3 separate regions of the Homo sapiens genome follow, and all the other regions are linked to region 1. The links are contacts of gene promoters, found by promoter capture Hi-C in human tissues and cell types (Jung and others, 2019). All regions are on one chromosome and are shown on one strand. The core of a region is centred on a gene start or on the middle of the fragment in contact, and the rest is flanking DNA. Distances in the headings are between cores, read along the strand shown.

Evidence for each region. The method cuts DNA at HindIII sites, captures the fragments that hold promoters and counts their contacts. A contact is called where the count stands out against the background at its distance.
Region 2: a fragment that was not itself captured here is called in contact with the fragment with the promoter of XAF1 in region 1 in 5 of the 25 tissues and cell types used here (IMR-90 fibroblasts, liver, lymphoblastoid cells and 2 more).
Region 3: a fragment that was not itself captured here is called in contact with the fragment with the promoter of XAF1 in region 1 in 3 of the 25 tissues and cell types used here (neural progenitor cells, small bowel and spleen).

What each region holds. Positions count from the first base shown.
Region 1 is chr17:6,754,479-6,758,126 of GRCh38, forward strand. It overlaps XAF1 (XIAP associated factor 1), which reads left to right and starts at 1,568. Exons shown (of 7, transcript NM_017523.5): 1 at 1,568-1,632; 2 at 3,611-3,648. The coding sequence starts at 1,601. RefSeq lists an enhancer at 1,225-1,744. The HindIII fragment of the contact is 6,790 bases long and covers 1-3,522 here.
Region 2 is chr17:6,657,883-6,661,530 of GRCh38, forward strand. It overlaps the pseudogene ALOX15P1. Among named protein-coding and RNA genes, the nearest start is that of MIR4520-1, 4.2 kb to the left of the region's middle. The HindIII fragment of the contact is 8,121 bases long and covers 1-3,648 here.
Region 3 is chr17:6,848,417-6,852,064 of GRCh38, forward strand. No RefSeq gene overlaps it. Among named protein-coding and RNA genes, the nearest start is that of TEKT1, 19 kb to the left of the region's middle. The HindIII fragment of the contact is 4,954 bases long and covers 1-3,648 here.

The sequences.
Region 1 (3,648 bases), core at 318-2,817:
CACAGCCCTTTTTTTTTTTTTTTTTTTTTGAGACAGAGTCTCGTTCTGTTGCCCAGGCTGGAGTGCAGTGGTGCAATCTCGGCTCACTGCAACCTCCACCTCCTGGGTTCAAGCAATTCTCCTGCCTCAGCCTCCTGAGTAGCTGGGATTATAGGCAAGCACTACCATACCCAGCTAATTTTTGTATTTTTAGTAGAGACGGGGTTTCACCATGTTCGTCGGGCTGGTCTCGAACTCCTGACCTCGTGATCCGCCCACCTCGGCCTCCCAAAGTGCTGGGATTACAGGCATGAGCCACCAAGCCAAGCCCACTCGTTTTTCATTCTTGATATTGACAGACTGCCCAGAGACAGACAGGAGTGGGTAGTGAGGGTCAGAAGGATTAAGGAGCTTGCCTAGCCGATGAGGAAGGGAACAAGATAAGATGCAAACCTCAGTCTCTGACTCTCAGCCAAGTGCTCACTACCCCAACTAGCTGTCAAATGAGGTGGATGGGGCCTTGGTTAGGTACATAGACACCTGAGTCATATCAACCTGGTGTGAATCCCAGCTCTGATGTTGAGCGATTGGCCTAGCCTCTCTCTGCCTCCATTTTCTCTTTTTTCATTTCATTTTTCTTTTTTGAGGCAGAGTCTCACTCTGTCACTGCCTCTGTTTTCCATAGCAAAATGGAGTTAATAATGCTTACATGAGGGATTAAAACGAAGACAATGCCTACCTAATGCTTAGAATGGTGCCTGGAACATAGGAACAATGTTGAAACAGTCTTTCATTCTTCCCTCCTATCACTGTGATCATCAGTACCACCACACACTGCTTCTCATTTAGTGCCTGAATTTTAGAGCCTGCCTGGAGGCTGGAGCCCTGCCTGGACATTTCCCTTAATCTTGTTATCCTCCTCAGAGAGGCGGCACCCACCCCATTGGCAGACGCCACGGGAATTCTCTGGGCCTGCTTGTCATCACTCCAGATGTTGTTTAGAGTTCTTCTGTTAGCACAGCTGTTTCTAGGGTCTGGAAAAACTCTAAGGACCCCCAGGAGGATACACACCAGATTGGGTCTGGGCTCACACCACCCTGCATCCCCAGAGCCTCCCTGGACGCTGTTTGCAAGGTCCTCACCGCCTGGAAGTCCAGGAGCCATTTTTAGGGAACAGCATTCAAGCTCAACATGGCAAGTTCCCTCTTTCCTGCAGGGGAGGACCAGAAGGGAGCCGGAGATGGGGGAGAAGGGTGGGAGGTGGATGGTTTGGAAAAGGGATGGAGACCCAGACGGAGAGAAGCCAGCCAGCCAGGGTGAGGGAACAAGCTGCTGTGCTGCCCAGGAGAGGCCTGGCCTCAGGCTGCCAGCCTCAGGGAGGTAGATGCGGCTGTGACAGCAGCAAAGAATGACGGCCAAGGGCGACAGCAGGGGCTGGCCATGCTGTAAAGGGGCTTCTTGGGAGGGTCCAGCCTCAGGAATCAAGGGGAACTCCTGAGCCGAGAATTCTGAAGATCTCCTCCCTCCCTGAAGCTGTGGGCTGGGCCATCGGAAAACTTTCAGTTTTGTTTCCTTGCCTGCAAGAAACGAAACTCAACCGAAAGCCTGCAGAGAGCAGAACATGGAAGGAGACTTCTCGGTGTGCAGGAACTGGTAAGAAAGTGCTTTCTCCAGCGGCAGACCCGGGCTGGCGAGGGAGAGACGTAGACGACATAGGGCTGTTTCTGAAGGGAGCAGAAAGTGGTTCCTGCATAAGAACACTTAGGAGGACAAGCAGCTGGAGACCGTGGGCCCCAAGGGTAGGAGGGTTTAAACTTGGTAATCTCTGGGTGGGGGTGGGCAGCATTACCTCCACTTCACTGCAGCCCCTTTCCCCCAAATGTTAGGCTTTCTGGGACAGTTCTGAAGCCAAATAGCCCGGCCAGTGGTCCCAACTGGGCTACTCATACTTGTGAGACCTTGGGTCCTAATTTGGGGTTCTGATACTATGACCTTCACACCCATCTGTGAAAGAAAGTGTCCCACGGAGATTCTCCAGGACTACTCTCACCCTCCTTGGAAAGGGAGCCGTGGGGCGGGGCAGGGGGGACAGAGCAGGGGGCTGGGACCACACCTCTAACGGGAGGGGGGGCGCGGAATCTGACCGATCAAAAAGCCCCATTCTCAAAGCTCCCTACCTGTGACAGGGACCTGAGTGGACCCTCCCCAGAGAGCTTTGCTCCAGCCAGACCCTTCAAGTACTCTGGTTTCTCAACCAGCCCAGGAAGAGCAGGGGGAGAAGGGGCCAGGTCAGGCAGAGGAGAGAGAGCAGAGGAAGGGAAGATGATGCTGCCTGTGTGCCCGCTGCCTGGGCAGAAGAGGAGTGAGGCTTTGACAGTCCCTCTCGGAGCACGTCCCCTGTGCCAGGAACATGGGCATGTAACTCTTCTCGTCCCCTGGGCCTTTACGGCTACAGCCACCCCATTTCCCTTCTCCCAAGCTGCCACAAGCAAGAGCTGATGGAAATGAAAGGAGTCATTTCTTTCTTTCTTCTTCTTTTTTTTTTTTTTTTAAGATGGAGTTTCGCTTCTTTTTGCCCAGGCTGGAGTGCCTGGAGTGCAATGGCGCGATTTCAGCTCACTGCAACCTTCATCTCTCGGGTTCAAGTGATTCTCCTGCCTCAGCCTCCCGAGTAGTTGGGATTACAGGCGTGCACCGCCATGCCCGGCTAATTTTGTATTGTTTTAGTAGAGATGAGGTTTCACCATGTTGGCCAGGCTGATCTCTAACTCCTGACCTCAGGTGATCCACCCGCCTCGGCCTCCCAAAGTGCTGGGATTACAGGCATGAGCCACCACACCCAGCCAAAAGGGGGCACTTCTTGGCAAAAAGGACGGTTAGAGAAAAATGCCCTGCCCAGGAAGTGGGAGGCTCAGAACCCTTCCTTCACTGTGGTCTCCAGGAAGAACCTCGGAGTCTCTGTGAGTTAGCGCAGGTGAACCTGAAGGCAGGGGAGACTTGGGAAGCTCTCGCTTTGGAGATTTTGGAAGTTGGCATGGCCCTGGCAGGAAGCGTGAGCCTAGCAGGGCTGCGTTCCTAACACTGTGGACCAAACAGGGGCACCAGAAAACAAGAAAAAAGATTCAAGAGAATTTGGCACTTCTCTCAAATTATTTAAATTGAAATAATTTAATTATTTACATTATTTAAAATGAAATGTTTCATTTTAAAAACAGCCTTATAGAGGTATAATTGACCTACAATAAACCTCACATTTTAAAGGGTAGCAATTGATAAGTTTTGGCCTAAGTTATATACATCCATGAAACACCATCCCCGTAATTGAGATAATGAAGCTTCCTGTCACCCCAAAAGCTCCCCATGCCCCTTTGTAATTCCTCCCTCCTGCTCCTTCCCATGCCCTGCCCCAGCAATGTAAGAGCTCTGTAGATCATCCTTATTCTTATTAGATGCTGCCTCACTGTTCTGACTTTTGGACCCACACAGGGAGTGTGGGGCAGGTGGTGTCATCATCATCACATGTTCAGTGCTTAAGGCCTCTGGAGATCTAGCCCTGGGTATGAAATACAGCTCCATGTTTTATAATATGAAAATAAGTCTATTTTTCTATCCCCACACCTTGACCCTGTAGTAAAAGACATGTAGTCTCTGCCAACTTCACCCTCCATG
Region 2 (3,648 bases), core at 770-3,269, 96 kb before region 1:
GTTAATTCTGAATGTGGCTGGGGCAAAACTATGTGACCTCCCTGTGGATGAGCAATTTCTGGAAGACAAGAGTGTTGACTTTAAGGTTTCGCTGGCCAAAGGGTGAGAGCAAGGGGAGGCTGGGTGAGAGGGAGGTGTCCTGGTCTAGTGGAAGCCAAGGGGCTTATGGGCTGCACTGCACTGCACTGGACCGGCTCAAGGTCGGTGCCTGTGGCTGTCATGTTGGAGTCTCAGAATGATGCTCAAACCCTTTGCCCCATTCTGTCCTGAAGGCTGGCCGACCTCACTATCAAAAACTAAATGTTCTGACGCTGGGCATGGTGGCTCACGCCTATAATCCCAGCACTTTGGGAGACTGAGGCGGGCAGATCACGAGGTCAAGAGATCGAGACCATCCTGGCCAATATGGTGAAACCCTGTCTCTACTAAAAATACAAAAATTAGCTGGGCGTGGTGGCACGCGCCTGTAGTCCCAGTTACTTGGGTGGCTAAGGCACAAGAATTGCTTGAACCCAGGAGGTGGAGGTTGCAATGAGCCAAGATTGCACCACTGCACTCCAGCCTGGTGACAGAGTGAGACTCCATCTCAAAAATAAAATAATGTTCCGACTTGCTAGAATGATCTGAATGACTTCAACCAGATTTTCTGCTGTGGCCAGAGCAAGCTGGCTGGTCAGTCCCCCACCCCAATATGTCTCCCAGGACGCTTACCCCCAGATCCCACCCAACCCAGGGGAATTGAAAGAAGCAGGGTGGGGAGACCAGAGACTTGGGTCCCTCTGGTGGGCTGGAGTCAAGGGGGCATGGTTGGTGGGGTTGGAAGGACCAAGAGCTCAGATCCCACAACTTGCTCAACAACTGCCTTCCCCAGAGCGCGTGCGGGACTCCTGGAAGGAAGATGCCTTATTTGGGTACCAGTTTCTTAATGGCGCCAACCCCGTGGTGCTGAGGCGCTCTGCTCACCTTCCTGCTCGCCTAGTGTTCCCTCCAGGCATGGAGGAACTGCAGGCCCAGCTGGAGAAGGAGCTGGAGGTATGGACATCAGAGCCCTGAGGAAGCTCAGCAGTGAAGTGGGGTGGCCTAGTGCCAATGATGCTGCTGCGGGACCCACTGTGGGCCTGGCTTGCTGCCAGCCAGCAAGGACGGATTCTGCAGGAGAGGTCCTGAGGGACCCTGGAGAAGCTCAGCTGCTCGGCCTCCTTCCCACACGAGAGTAGCTGTGGAGGGAGGGCGTGCAAGATGGAATGGTTGATAGAAACAGGGTCAAATGAAGAAATGTGACTGGCCCCTGGTGCTAGGGATTCGGGGAGTGTGCAGAGTAAGAGAGTCAGGATCAGAGTGCTGTGGCTGTTCATCAGGAGGCGATATGGAACAACAGAGAGGAAATTCATGGGATTAAGGGCAGATAGGCTTGGATGTGAATCCTGGTTCTGCTATTTGTAAGCTGTGTGACCTCAGGCAAAATACCCAGCCTCTCTGATTATCTGTTTCCTCTTCTGTGCAACTGAGGCTCGTTCAACTAGGTATAAAAATTATAAGGCTGGGCACAGTGGCTTGCACCTGTAATTCCAGCACTTTGGGAGGTCGAGGCAGGAGGATCACCTGAGCCCAATAGTTGGAGACCAGCCTAGGCAACGTGGTGAAACCCTGCCTCTACAAAAATACAAAAATTAGCACCTGTAACTTTTGGTGTAGTGGCATGCACCTGTAGTCCCAGCTATTTGGGAGGCTGAGGTGGGAGGATCACCTGGGCCCAAGGAAGTCAAGGCTGCAGTGAGCCATGGTGGTCCCGCCATGGCACTCCAGCCTGGGCAACAGAGTAATACCCTGGCTCAAAAAATAAACAATGATATGAGGCAATAAGCACATGATCCATTACCTGGTACAAAGTAGGTGATGGAGACAAGTTAGCTTCTCTCTCTCTCTCTCTCTCTCTCTCTCTCTCTCTCTCCTCTCTCTCTCTCTCTTCCCCCTTGGAGGAATCCGAGTGGGAAGAAGATGCTTTATGTTGATAGCAGCCTTTGACCTCTTCCTGCACCCAGGGAGGCACATTGTTCGAAGCTGACTTCTCCCTGCTGGATGGGATCAAGGCCAACGTCAGTCTCTGTAGCCAGCAGCACCTGGCTGCCCCTCTGGTCATGCTGAAACTGCAGCCTGATGGGAAACTCTTGCCCATGGTCATCCAGGTGAGAGGACTCAGGATTTCTGCTCCCAGTCTCCAGCCTTCTCAGCTCAGCCCCTTATCGAAATGCACTAAGCACCATCTTCAAAGGCGCTGGGCTAAGGCACCAGGGAGACGCGAAAGGAGGAAATGCGCCAAGTCTCTATTCGAAGGCCTTGCAATGTAGCTGGAGAGACACATAGGGCTAGTCTGCAGAAGCTCCGGGACTGAGGAAGTCCCGGAGGACAGAGACAGCCCAGGAGGGATCGGGGAGTTGGGATGTCACCAGCCTTGGAGGAGGGCCAGGTCTCAGACAAGCAGGAGGGAGAGGAAGGACCAGTCCTCAGGGGCAAGACAGACTGGGCAGAGGCTAAGGTAGAGGAGTCAGGAGATTCCTAGGGGACAGTTGGACTGGGGCCAGACTAAGCCAGGCTAAGGAGCATGAAGTGGGAAGCTGGAGAAGGCTGTGATGAAACATGCTATAGGCACGCGGTGTGGGCAGTGGTGTTTAGGGTGGGTTGGAGAGGGGAGATGCTAGAAACAGGGACTGGGGCAACATGCCCCAGCACTGACCCCAGGAGGAGGGGAGCTCGGATATGGGTAGTGACCGTCGGGATGGAGAGGACCGGTGGATGCGAGTGCAGAGGGAGATGAAGGAGAGGGGAAAGGGGAGCCAGGCCAGGTGCCTGCAGAAATAGCACCAATAAAGAGAACAGGGTGCCCAGGTAGACTTTTGTCTGGCCAATGTTGAGGTAACGGGAAGACATTTAAATTGTCCAGCAGGCAGCTGAGAACAAGAGATTCAGTCATTTGTGTAGAGGTGGGGCCAAAAGATGAGATTTCGAAAAACAGTGTGGGATGGAGGAAGCAGGTGGTTTGAATCTTGTCCACAATGCGGGGACTGAAAGGGGAAGTGGAGGCTGGAGGAGGCACCAGAAGAGCAGTTTCTGCAGAATGCTGGAGGCAAAGCAGCTTGCAGGGTGCTAATGCACTGAGCTGGTAGGAAGGGGAGGGGAGGAAATGGGAGCTGTAGGGAGAGGCAGGAGTGGGATGGGGAAAGCAGAACAGGTTTGGAGGACGAGGTTAACATGCAAGGGGGGCGGGAATCGCTGAGTGCCGGGCACTCATGCCTTCTCTCCCCACACTTGTCCCTGCTCCAGCTCCAGCTGCCCAGCACAGGATCCCCACCACCTCCCCTTTTCCTGCCCACGGATCCCCCAGTGGTCTGGCTTCTGGCCCAATGCTGGGTGCGCAGCTCTGACTTCCAGCTCCGTGAGCTGCAGTCTCATCTTCTGAGGGGACACTTGATGGCTCAGGTCATTGTTGTGGCCACCATGAGGTGCCTGCCGTCGATACATCCTATCTTCAAGGTAACACCTTATCCCCTTCTCTCCTGTATTCAGCTGAATACTTGATGGGGACCTTTGTTTCTCTAGAGTTCTCTTTCTGTACAACACCCTCAATTTCAGCATGCTGCCCTGTGAATT
Region 3 (3,648 bases), core at 818-3,317, 94 kb after region 1:
TTTGTTTGTTTTCCTTCTGACAGTCAGGGCCCTCTTCTACAGGTCTGCTGGAGTTTGCTGGAGGTCCACTCCAGACCCTGTTTGCCTGGGTATCACCAGCAGAGGCTGCAGAACAGCAAAGATTGCTGCCTGCTCCTTCCTCTGGAAGCTTAATCCCAGAGGGAAACCTGCCAGATGCCAGCCGGAGCTCCCCTGTATGAGGTGTCTGTCAACCCCTGCTGGGAGATGTCTCCCAGTCAGGAGGCATGGGGGTCAGGGACCCACTTGAAGAGGCAGTCTGTCCCTTAGCAGAGCTCTAGTGCTGTGCTGGGAGATTCACTGGTCTCTTCAGAGCCGGCAGGCAGGAACATTTAAGTCTGCTAAAGCTGTGCCCACAGCTGCCCCTTCCCCAAGGTGCTCTGTCCCAGGGAGATGGGAGTTTTATCTATAAGCCCCTGACTGGAGCTGCTGCCTTTCTTTCAGTGATGCCCTGCCCAGAGAGGAGGAAACTAGAGAGGCAGTCTGGCTACAGCGGCTTTGTTGCACTGTGGCGGGCTCTGCCCAGTCCAAACTTCCTGGTGGCTTTGTTTACACTGTGAGGGGAAAACCGCCTACTCAAGCCTCAGTAATGGCAGATGCCCCTCCCCATACCAAGCTCGAGCATCTCAGGTTGACTTCAGACTGCTGTGCTGGCAGCAAGAGTTTCAAGCCAGTGGATCTTAGCTTGCTGGTCTCCAGGGGGGTGGGACTCGCTGAGCAAGACCACCTTGGCTCCCTTGCTTCAGCCCCCTTTCCAGGGGAGTGAAAGGTTCTGTCTCACTGGGGTTCCAGGTGCCACTGGGGTACAACAACAACAACAAAAAACTCCTGCAGCTAGCTCAGTGTCTGCCCAAATGGCCACCCACTTTTATGCTTGAAACCCAGGGCCCTTGTGGTGTAGGCACCTGAGAGAATCTCCTGGTCTGCTGGTTGCAAAAACCGTGGGAAAAGCATAGTATCTGGGCTGAATAGTACAGTCCTTCATGGCACAGTCCCTCATGGCTTCCCTTGGCTACGGGAGGGAGTTCCTGACCCCTTGCACTTCCCAGGTGAGACGACGCCCCACCCTGCTTCTGCTCACCCTTCGTGAGCTGCACCCACTGTCTAACCAGTCCCAATGAGATGAACTGGGTACCTCAGTTGGAAATGCAAAAATCACCCATCTTCCTCATAGGTCTCGCTGGGAGCCGCAGACCGGAGCTGTTCCTATTTGGCTATCTTGCCAAGTTCCCCCTCATTTTCTTGAATTACAGCTTTTAGTATTCTTTCTGATCCTTTGCTTTGGTTTTTGTTCATCTTTCCGTTGTGCTTTTGTTTTGTGTAATGATATTATTTTGCCCTTTATTGTCTCTTTTCTTATAGTAACTTTGTATGGGATTTGACTTCACTACTTTTCTACTGCCATTTTTATGTGAATTTTGTTTTCCATGTTAATAAAAAGAAGCTTGTTCAGATAACACATCTAACTTCTTGGATCCCCATCCATTTTTGTTCTTGTAATGTTCAAAAACATGATGGCCTGCTTTTGGAGATTTCCTGGCTTTGTTTCCCCACCCTGTGCTTTTCTGGATCTTTTCTTTCATTTATTTCAGTTGAGTTTTTCCAAGGGTTTCTCTGAAGTGTTCCGCTCCATCCTGGAAGACAGCCTTGGCTGACCAGTTTCAGGAGTTCCCGTAGGTCCTTAGATCTTATCAACTGTGCCTGGCACCTACTTGCTATTACAGTGGTGATAGGCTTTGGATCTGTGTCCCCTCTAAATATCATATCAAACTATAATCCCTATTGTTGGAGGTAGGGCCTGGTGGGAGGTGACTGGATTGTCGAGGAGATTTCTCATGAATGGTTTATCACCATCTCCTTGGTGCTGTTCTCGCGCTAGTGGGTGACTTCTCCTGACATCTGGTCGTTTAAAAGTATGCGACACTGTTTTAGTCTGTTCTTGCATTGCTATAAAGAAATACCTGAGACTGGGTAATTTATAAAGAAAAAATATTTAATTGGCTCATGGTTCCACAGGCTGAACAGGAAGTATGATGCTGGCATCTACTTGGCTTCTGGGAGGCCTCAGGAAACAAAATCATGATGGAAGGTGGAGGGAGAGCCACATGGCTGGAGCCAGAGGAAGAGAGAGAGAGGGGAGAGGTGCCACACACTTTAAAGCAACCAGATCTCATGAGAACTCTATCATAAGAACAGTACCAACGGATAGTGCTAAACCATTCACGAAGGATCCACCCGCATGAGCCAATCACCTCCAACCAGGTCCCATTTCTGACATTTGAAAATTACAACTTGACACAAGATTTAGGTGGGGACACAGATCCGAACCATATCAGGCACCTTCTCCCCCTCTTCCTTGCTCCTGCCTTCAGGATATGATGTGCCTGCTCCCCCTTTGCCTTTTTCCATGATTGGAAGCTTCCTGAGGCCTTCCCAGAGGCAGAAGCCACTATGTTTCCTGTACAGCCGGTAGAACCATGAGCCAATTAAACCTCTTTTCTTGTAAATGAGCCAGTCTCAGGTATTTCTTTACAGCAGTGCGAGAATGGCCTAAAACAAATGGGCATGTTCCCTCCTAGTTCCAGCTGTTGTTCCCAAATTGGCCTACTACAATTTTACCATTTTCAGGTTTGTCATATGTCCTGTTGTTTTCTTCCAAGTTCTCTTGCACAGGTGAGATGTGGATAACACATAGGTCTTATGGCTGTTGGTGGTTTGTCCTGTTTTGGAGTTTGCAGGGATTACTTGTCTAGCTTTTTGTAAATGTGATTCATGAGTATTTGATTTTGCTATCTAGTTCTGTCTGTTTTTATGTGGATATCCAGGAAGATCCAAATTCTATGCTGCCTCCACTGAAACTGTCTTCCCAGAAATGTATTACTTTTTGTCATTAAAAAGGAGGTATAGGAAGATTAATCTATGCACTGCATTTGGAAAGGTGTTTGTTTGTTTGTTGTTTATTTTTAGGTTGCAGTGATGGCAGGGAGCCAATGTTGATTTCTGATATGGGAGGATGATGATCAGAGCTGGTCATCTGAAAGATTAACTTGGCAGAAGTTTGAAGATTGAAGAAAAGTAGTGGAGTGAGAAGGCCAATTCTGACAGTACATCAGCAGTCCAAATAGGAGATGATAATGAGGGAAAGGTGAGTGGGAAGGGCAAGGAAAAGACAGCTGTGGGGAATTCAATAAACGCTGAATCAGTGGCTTGGTGGTGAGGGAAGGATGAAGAAGAGTTAGAAGAATCAGAATTGACTGAAAATTTGTAGGATGAATGTCTAGGGGAATAATATTACCCAAAACACCAGTGTAGATGAGGAAAATGATATGGTGACAGTAATAATGAGGGGTCAGAGGGAGAGCAGTGACTAATTTTTTTTTTTTAATTTGCATTTCACTAGCTGGAGGTACCTCAAGAAAAAGATGTTGTGTGTGAATGTGCAGGGCTGAGGGAAAGGTCCATGCTAGACACACAGATTTGAGAGTCATCTGCAAAGTATACTCCAGGAAAGATAGAACAAATGGCACTATATATCCACAGAAAACTTAGAAACACTATTCCTGAAATAAAGATTGCCTTTGCTCATTGAAAATGTTCACAGTGTTTCAAGTTAACAACTAGTAAAGGACC